Regions from separate parts of the Homo sapiens genome. Here region 2 is linked to region 1. Evidence: promoter capture Hi-C in human tissues and cell types (Jung and others, 2019). All regions are on one chromosome and are shown on one strand. The core of a region is centred on a gene start or on the middle of the fragment in contact, and the rest is flanking DNA. Distances in the headings are between cores, read along the strand shown. Region 1 holds the start of PSMC5 (proteasome 26S subunit, ATPase 5). Region 2 overlaps TLK2 (tousled like kinase 2).

Region 1 (4,621 bases), core at 1,335-3,834:
TCAACAGGGTTGGCAGCTCGGAGGAAGTCAGTGACTGAGGTACGGTGATAGAGAGTGAGGTCACCCTCAGCATAGCCTTCAGCCTTAGGAAGGAAAAGAGAGAAGCTTGGTCAGGCCCTTCTAAGGTACCTGTAGGACCCACCAGGCCCAACCTCCCTAGAGTTCCAGGACCCAAGAGTGACCCCATTCCCCAAAACACACCTTTGGCTTCTTCTTAGTAACCAATTCAGTAACGGTCTTAGCCTGAACTTCAACCTCCTTAAAGGCAAATTTGGGGTCAAAGAATTTACTGTCAACCTTGTCAGGGGCCAGGAATCCTAAAAATGACAGGATATATTAAAAAGTGTGCTTTGGGAGTTGGGAGCCTGGATCAAGAGAAAGGAAATGATGCCCACCTTGGCAGACTACAAAGATCTCTGCAGATTCATGGCGAGAGGCTTGGGGCTTGGTGGCCTGGACACGGCGGAACAGCTGCTGAAAGATCCATAGCAGAGGCTGATAGTCACGAGAACGGAAAACCTTTGTGATGAAGCTGCCACCACGGGCCAAAAAGTCACAAGCCAAACGTAGAGCCATCAGTGTCAAATGGGCTGTAGGATAGAGACAATTAGTTGACGCACTCTGCAGCCCAGGAGGGCATGCGCCCACCTCCACCATCACCTGATCTCCAAGCACCACACTCCCTGTACCTTGTGAGTAAGCATCATGGACCCAGCTAGCCCCAACGTTGGGGGCCCCATCATTGAGCACAACATCAACCTTCCAGGTCTTCAGCTCCTTCCTCAGGGCCTAAAGAGAAGAAAAGGAACTATGGAAACAGAAACACTGGAATGGCCCTGGTTCAGCCATTTGTCCATCTAGTCATTTGCTGAGTGCCCATCATGGGCCAAATGCAGTACCAGGCACAGGAGATACAATAGTAAACAAAAACAGTATGTCTCTACCTTCATGGAGATTACAGTCTGACACTGAATTCACAGGAGAAGACTTCACTAAAGATCTCTGCCCTTCTCCCAATTCCAAACACCTTTATCCCTGACTCTAAATAAAGCCTGGAGTGGACACTACGAATGCCATAGGTCTTGTCGTACAGATGTCAGGCAAGAACGTGCTCAAAGCACGGTAAAAAGGAAAAACTTGCCTTTAGAGGATTTCAGGGATGTAGATGTTTCCGTATAAAGGGGGAAGGAAGAGAGAGACTCCTATTACCTGCCTACAACGTTCTGTTGTGATGTCCTGCTGGAGAGTCACCACATTGGGGAGAGGCTTGATTGGAACCAGGTCCACTCCTGGAAGAAATCAGGTCAGAGTATTCTAAAAGGTTGCTTCAAGCAGGGAGGAGAGAAATACAGGACAAAATACCTTATACACCCACCCCTTAAAACACCAAGGAGAGCTGTCCGTTACTCACCCACAATAAGGCTGGATACAGGCATAAACTTGGCAGCTACCTGCAGCCTATAAAAGGAACAGAAATTTAAAAACCTAGAGCCATCCTTTTCCCCCTCTTGGCAACTGATCTCTCATCCCTGGTGTTACGTGTACTGGCCAAAGCATATCATAGGCACGTATTCCAAGCCCTTTCTCTGCAATCAAGAAAGGAAACGGCCCCCAAGAGGACCGGGATTCGGGTTCCCCTCCCGCAGTGAAACTGGAAGCCATCCCAGCTCAGAACCCAGAAAGCGGCCACCAGGAGCAACCTGTGGCGAGTGTTACGAACCATCCCCCTGGCGCAGCACACAGGTCCAGCAAGGCTCGGGCTTTCTGCAGGAACTGAAAGCGGCGATTGAGCTGGATCAGCTTGAAAGCAGATCGGGAACGGTAACCTGGACAAAACAACCAAGTGCGCAAACTGCTTCACTAGTAGGATTTCTCCGGCCTCGCAACCGACCACCCCTTCTGCAGGAGAGGTACATAATGGTCGCAAAGAGCAGGCGAACCGGGCAGAGATCGCTCGCTCGCTCGCAGACTGAGCGAATCCGGACTCACCCGTCTCCTTCGCCAAGTGATAAAACTTGTCTCGTCGGCTCTTGCCAACTTTGCCCTTCTTGCCCATGGTGGAAAGGGGGAGTATCCCTCAATCTGGGGAGAAAGTAGAAGTTGGGAACGTCTCTTTCCGGAGCACCAGATTCCACTTCCAGTTTCCCACTTCCAGTTTCCCACTTCCCGCAGCAATTCCACCCCGCGCCCCTCTCCGCACACTACCTAGACCCAGAGCCGCTTTCTCCACACTTGGAACCGCACAAGTATGCAGCTAACTACTTCCGCTTCCGCTTGCGTCCCCTGCGTCCCTGGCTCGAGGTTTTCCGCCATTTTGAGTGTGGCCCTAGATTGTTCTCAATACTCTGTCCTTGGGTTTTGTAAGTTGAAAGTTGAGACTAGGAAGGCATATCACAAGAACTATAAACAGAGTTTCAATGAGGCAACACTGAGGAGGAGTTCTACTCCTTCCTCATCCCCTTCCAAAGCCCCTGAACTCGAGTAGCCGCCCCTCCCATCATGGTTCCCTTAGTGTGGTCTCGCCGCACACCCCGCCCATTGACCCGGAATTCTTCTCTGCCTGGTCTTCAGGTCCCAATCCTCCGCTTCCGCGCTTGCGCGCCAAGACGGCTCGGATGCCGGCGGTCTCTGCTGAAGAGAGAAGATGGCGCTTGACGGACCAGAGCAGGTATGGCGGGTGCAGTGGCGGCCCGGCAGGTTACGGGGCTGGGTGCGGAGCGAGCGTGATCTGAGTGGAGAGCGGGCCGGGGCAGGAGCGTCGGGTGGGTCGGAGGTGCCTGGACCAGTCCATGCTGGACGCTGCCTGCGACCGGATCTGCTGTGTCAGCGCCGCCCTCGGTGAGTCAGGGCAAGGCTGGGAGAGGAAGACGCGGTAGAAGCGGAGTGAGTGAGGGAAGCGATGGGCGCGGGAATGGCCGGCCCACGGGTCGCAGGAGACGGGACGCCAGTCCTTTGGCTCCGTTCCGCTGGCTCCTTCGTCAGTACTGACACCTCGGGCTTGTAGAGCACTTCACGCAGTGCAAAGCGCCCCCCGTCTATATCATATCGCCTCTCGGTCCTCCTAAAAGTCGTATGAGGTAGGCGGCGTTCCCATTCTTTTATTTTAGTCCTGGGAAAATGGAGGGTTCCAAGGGAGGGAGGGATTAGAACCCAGATCCTGAGCCTCCGAAGTCCAAACTTTTTCTACTACGCAAAGCTACCTGGTGTCAAGCCTTATTCAAAGTGCCCTGCAAGTGGCTTTACCCCCTCGGATGTTTAACCTGTCGTTTAAGACTCACTCTGTGTCTTCAGATGGAGCTGGAGGAGGGGAAGGCAGGCAGCGGACTCCGCCAATATTATCTGTCCAAGATTGAAGAACTCCAGGTGAGGACGGACTCCAGAGGGAGCTAGGAAGGGTGATGATGGGGGATGGAAACGGACTTCCACAAATCCATCTAATTCCTTTGGGAGTGCAGTGGAAGAAGCTGCTGCTTCTCCTTTCTTGTTTGTTTCTTAGCTAGTAGGGTGTATGTATCAGAAGTAAGCAATCTCTTGTTCTCCTCCAGTCCCATCTCTTTGAGGGTCTTAGTGTTCACAGTTTGTTACACATCTTCGAGTCAAATCTTAATAGTAAAGGTACCTCTAGCCAAAGGTCAACCCTTTTGGAAGAAGCCCGAATGAAAAGGATTCTTATAAAAGGGAAACATAAGCTCAGGAGTTGAAATTTATCACCAAGAGGTTGGGTGAGGGTGAAGTGAGAATGTGAGGAAGGGCATCATTGAGGGATCTGGACAATGCTAATTCCATAGAGACTGAATGAAAGAAATTGGGCAACCCAGAGCCCTAGCCTAAAGCGCTAAACCATAGAAAAAGGACCGTTTATGTTGTTAATCAAATGTTTGTGTTACCAGTAAGGCTTCCAGCAGTAAGGTATGGCTTCCAGTAGTAAGCCTTACAGACAACATAAACAGTAGTCTGTTAGTGTTACGTTATACTGTTACGGTAGGCTGTTAGTAGTTTAACTTTGGACAGGTCCATGGATTTTCAATTTCACCCTAACCCCCTGCGTTGTTCAAGTGTCAACTGTAATATAAATTGGATGGGGGAAAGCCACAAAAGACAATTCTGAATTCCAAGTGCATTTGCAGGTATTATGTTTAGTTTACCATTTTTGAATGCTTTTTCATGTGTTTTTATTCGTTCACCTTAGTAGTCTTGAAGCAGGGTAGCTGATGCTATACCCATGTGCCGTTTGGTAACAGATCTAGATTTTTAAAAATAGATTGTCTTACCTTTACTTTGCTTTTGATTGACAGCGGCTGGGCTAGAACTCAGGTTTCTCACCTAACAATCTTTCCACCAGGTGTTGTTGCCTTCCTGCAAGAAATTTGGTGTTACATGAGCCAGCTGTAACTTTTCTCCATTAGATTCTGTTACTCCTGGACCAGTATTGGACAAGCAGCCTTCTTTGATGGCTGCTGTAAGGTCCAGAGGGACTCTTGAAGGACAGGGCAGGGTCATTAGGATCATACTGGAGAATCTGAAACAACATGCAGGTGCCCTGTGCCCTTCCCTCAGCTCATTCAGACCTGTGAGGTCTTGGCCAAGATCCTACCTCCTCCTGTCTCCTGCCCTTGAATAA
Region 2 (4,621 bases), core at 1,784-4,283, 1.2 Mb before region 1:
GGCCAAGGTGGGAAGATTACTTGAGGCCAGGAGTTCAAAAACAGCCTGGCAAACACATTGAAGCCCTGTCTAGATAAAAAAATAAAAATAAAAAATGTTGCAATTTTTGTGAAATAAGATATTATGTCTGAAGTGAGTGGTTTTTATACTTTAAACATACTGGTTTTAATTTGGTATAAATGATGGAAGTTTCTCTATTTTATAAGCAGCTCTCTCTACATGCAGTGCTTATCCAGAGAAACTTAGGTTTAGATAGATCTGTAAAGTAGTGATCACCCTATTTAGGTACTGTTTTCTGCACTTGTTGCCTTCATTTATTTGTATATTTGTGGAAATTAGCAGATGGGTGATAACAGTGTTGAAACTGAAGTAGTAAGCTTTTAATCTAAACTTTACAAACTAAGAAAAACTATTCTAAAGAAGCTATGCAATAAATTCTTTTGTTTGGAGGGAAATCTTCAATTGAATTGAAAGATTACTTTATCAAATTATGATTTACACCCAGCTTCCTCAAAAATCCATGTTACCTTTTTCACTGTGCTATAGCAAGCACTACATAGCTGATGCAGGACTTGCTGGCAGTGGTGGCCATTGGGGAAAGCTGGTTCCTGCCTCTGGACAGTGCTGGAGAAGTGACTTGGGGTGACTAACTTCAGCCATTTTTGGGATTAGAAACTGCTTTTCGGCCAGGCGCAGTGGCTCACGCCTGTAATCCCAGCACTTTGGGAGGCCGAAGCGGGGCGGATCGCCTGAGGTCAGGAGACCAGCCTGACCAACATGGTGAAACCCCATCTCTACTAAAAATACAAAAATTAGCCGGGCGTGATGGTGCGTGCCTGTAATCCCAGCTACTCAGGAAGCTGAGGCAGGAGAATCACTTGAACCCGAGAGACAGAGGTTGCAGTGAGCCAAGATTGCACCGTTGCACTCCAGCCTGGGCGACAGAGCGAGACTCCGTCTCAAAAACAACAACAACAAAACCACTTTTCATTTACCCAGCATATAGAGATGGGACTAAAGGCAGGGCTGTTTTTTGTTCTTGTTTCTCTTTTTATTTTAATAAACAATATGCCAAATTACAGGGTGGTTTTGTAAACAATCATACCAAAGAAGTATATTGTGAGGGGTTATTTTCTCCAGGAGGCAGGCAGTGTGTGTCCCTGGAATTTCAAAAGTGACAGGATGTTTGAAGCTTGTAAAGTCCCAGTGTCAACTGAAGGATAAGAGACAACCTAAGGCAGACGGGTCCCAGACAGGAATAGATGGTGTCCAGAAAGAGAATGGTTGGGAAATGATTCTGAAGGCAGGGGCTATCTTTCTGTTTGTGGTGTTGGCCTGGTTTTATGTTCTAAATCCCTTGGTGCCAGTGTGTCTGGAGACTTCTAAATTATCTAATCACAAGTTTCAAGAAGGTGCTTGCAACACTGATATAAGTATGTGATGTATTTAATAATGTATTTTGGACTTTGATTATGTTATATGTTAAATTAAAGCTTCACATCAGTTACCTGTAATTTTTCTTAACATTTACCCAGTATATAATTTATTCTCTTTATAGGCATTTGATCTAACAGAGCAAAGATACGTAGCTGTGAAAATTCACCAGTTAAATAAAAACTGGAGAGATGAGAAAAAGGAGAATTACCACAAGTAAGTGATACTTGAGTGTCTGACTTTTTAAAATTAAATAATACCTGTAGTTTGAGCATTATGCTACAAGCTTTACGTGCATTGTTGTTGGTTTTGTTTTATGTAATCTTCATAACTGCCCTGAGAGAATAAATACATTCTCAGTGTTACGACGAGGAAACTGATGCTTACAGAATTGGAGTAACAGGAAGTGGCTGAGCTGGTATTTAAATCCAGACTTTCCTGAATCCAAAGCCCTAGGTACTCTTAACCTTCCCTTCCTTTGTGGCTAGAAATAGCTATAGTAAATAAAGCCTTAGAAATCATTTTTGCTGGCCGGGCACGGTGGCTCACACCTGTAATCCCAGCACTTTGGGAGGCTGAGGCAGGCAGATCACGAAGTCAGGAGATCGAGACCATCCTGGCTAACACGGTGAAACCCCGTCTCTACTAAAAATACAAAAAATTAGTTGGGCGTGGTGGCAGGCATCTGTAGTCCCAGCTACTCGGGAGGCTGAGGTAGGAGAATGGCGTGAACTCGGGAGGCAGAGCTTGCAGTGAGCCGAGATCACGTCACTGCACTCCAGCCTGGGTGATGGTGCGAGTGCGAGACTGCATCTCAAAAAAAAAAAAAATTGTTGCTTGTCTATAGAAACTAGACCCTAGGGAGCTGCTGGTGGGCTGTTTCTGCTACTTCAGTCATTTCCTTCTAGAAGAGACTGGGGGCACCTGGTGTGTCTTGGTGGCACCTGTTTGACTTGTTCAGCCTCTCTGTGCTATGTTCTCCTCCCGGTCACAGTTTGCCCATCTCAAAGTTCTTGGTCTTCAGGGTCCCACTTCTGTGCTTGCTTCTCTATAGAATAGTACTAGTGGCAGCCTTCATCTGTACTTGGGATGTGGGGTAGAGAGGGGGGGCTTCTTTAAAATGAATTGTTACAATATGCACAGCTGTGAATTGCTTTGTTCCACTGATGTCAGGTTTTGCCTATATCTCCCCAAGCTTCTGAACGTTGGAGTTCATGGCTCATTTGCTTTAGAGGCTATGCAGACTTAATTTGCTATTAGGTTCCCCACTGGGCTTAGTTTTGTTTCCTTGTTGTTGGTACAAGTATTGAATCAGACAAGTCCTGCCCTTGAAAGGAGGGGACAGGCTTTTTTGACAAAGCAAACACCTCCTTTCTATAAAGGCAGTCTTGGTTTTTTTTGGTGTTTTGTTTGTTTGTTTGTTTGTTTTATAAATAATAATTTGGAAGGGGAAAAACAGTGGTCTTTGAAGTAGCCCTTTAGTTGGCTTCTAGCCTGGTCCAAGGCAACTCTTGCTCTATACCTCTTGTTCATCAGGGACCCAGAAGTTCTTCCTGTTCCAGACAGATGGGCAGTGGTGCTCAGCACTGGAGAAGGGAAGGTTCCTGCTACATTAAGAGCAACAGGGCTTAGCAGAGGGAGAAGGGATGACCTGTGGCACCCTGCGTGTGTTTCTTAGGTGACAGGCAGCTGCAGTCCAGATGCTCCTGAGGAGCAGTTACATTATTATAAGAACATTCCAGTCACTTGATATGTAGGGATGAGTGGCACACCGTAGTGAGTGCCAGGAGCACTTCAGAGAAGGAAAGCACATGTTGTTCTGACCAGTTATAAGTGAGCAATGCCACTACTGTATTGAGACCCTAAGAATGCCTAAGGGTGTTGGACCAGTACATGCTTCTCTTTAAAAATGCCCTGTAGGGCATTTTTATACATATACAGATGTATATGTATAAAATATACGTATACATCTGTATATGTATAAAATATACGTATACATCTGTATATGTATAAAATATACGTATACATCTGTATATGTATAAAATATACGTATACATCTGTATATGTATAAAATATACGTATACATCTGTATATGTATAAAATATACGTATACATCTGTATATGTATAAAATATACGTATACATCTATACATATACATATTTTTATACATATACGTCTCCTGTGCTGAGACGTATATGTATTTTGCCTAGTCTCAGTATCCAGGTTTCTGGCTGACCTTGCAGAGAGCTCTAGTGTTGGATACCACAGCAACTGCAGGTGGGCGTTCTGCCCATCTAGCCTTTTGAAACACTGAGGAGTGGAAGCCGGGCCTTGTCCCTCCTTCAAACAGTTGGCAAGCACTCTGAGGCCTGGTGGGTATGGATTGGGTGTTTTCTCACATATGTCTCTACCAGACAGAATCAGAGAGCACGTGAAGGGGATGGTCCTATTTGTCTAAGTTCTTTCCATTCAAGTTCCAGGCTGGCATTGGTGCCTTTCTACTCTGTTTCCTCATCAGAGGAGGGATCATGGTGCCTGAGCTCATCTGAGGAGGGGGCATTTCCTATTTGGCAGACACCTTGGGGAGAGGGTGTGTGAGTTGTTGTGACCTTCATTCTTGCTTGGGCAGCTGGGGGGAGTTCTTTTTTTTGTTTTGTTTTGTTTTCCAATCAGGAAGCAGCACTGAGGAGACAATTCTTAAGTACCTCCACCTTTCTTTTGAAAGAATTGGCTTTCTAAGTGATATAAAATCATACTCATGCATTTCAGGCTATAGAAAATGGCGAATTGACAAAATGTCATTAACTGCTTTGAACTAAAAGGAGACTTACATCAAGCACATAACGGACATTGATGAGTGCTTTAAAAATTCAGTATTAAACTAAAAAGTAGTACACTTCAGTGTTGTGACATTATAAAATATGAAAATGCTATAACCCTGCTAGTAAGGTCTGTTAATTGCGTTTCCATTCATGGGGATGACTTCCCAGTCCCATCTGGAATCAAGACATTTATTCTGGTAAAAAAGAAGGCAGATTTCAAAAGAAAATAAAAGGTGTTTGTTTTGTTGTATTTTGAATTTTGTTCTGTCACTTCATTCCTCTCCTCCTCCTACCATAAGCAAACAAAAAGTAAACTGATTGTTTTATTTATATTATAAAAACAAATTTTATTAAAAATTTTTATT

Evidence for each region. The method cuts DNA at HindIII sites, captures the fragments that hold promoters and counts their contacts. A contact is called where the count stands out against the background at its distance.
Region 2: a contact is called between a fragment that was not itself captured here and the fragment with the promoter of PSMC5 in region 1, in 1 of the 25 tissues and cell types used here (spleen).

What each region holds. Positions count from the first base shown.
Region 1 is chr17:63,824,847-63,829,467 of GRCh38, forward strand. PSMC5 (proteasome 26S subunit, ATPase 5) reads left to right here and starts at 2,585. Exons shown (of 12, transcript NM_002805.6): 1 at 2,585-2,668; 2 at 3,292-3,363. The coding sequence starts at 2,645. FTSJ3 (FtsJ RNA 2'-O-methyltransferase 3) reads right to left here and starts at 2,817. Exons shown (of 21, transcript NM_017647.4): 1 at 2,206-2,817; 2 at 1,990-2,082; 3 at 1,721-1,826; 4 at 1,412-1,458; 5 at 1,210-1,289; 6 at 690-789; 7 at 396-590; 8 at 202-317; 9 at 1-83. The coding sequence starts at 2,056. RefSeq lists enhancers at 1,930-3,129, 2,266-2,545, 2,926-2,975. The HindIII fragment of the contact is 12,724 bases long and covers 1-4,621 here.
Region 2 is chr17:62,584,577-62,589,197 of GRCh38, forward strand. It overlaps TLK2 (tousled like kinase 2), which reads left to right. Exons shown (of 22, transcript NM_006852.6): 16 at 1,559-1,650. Among named protein-coding and RNA genes, the nearest start is that of MRC2, 41 kb to the right of the region's middle. The HindIII fragment of the contact is 4,499 bases long and covers 785-4,621 here.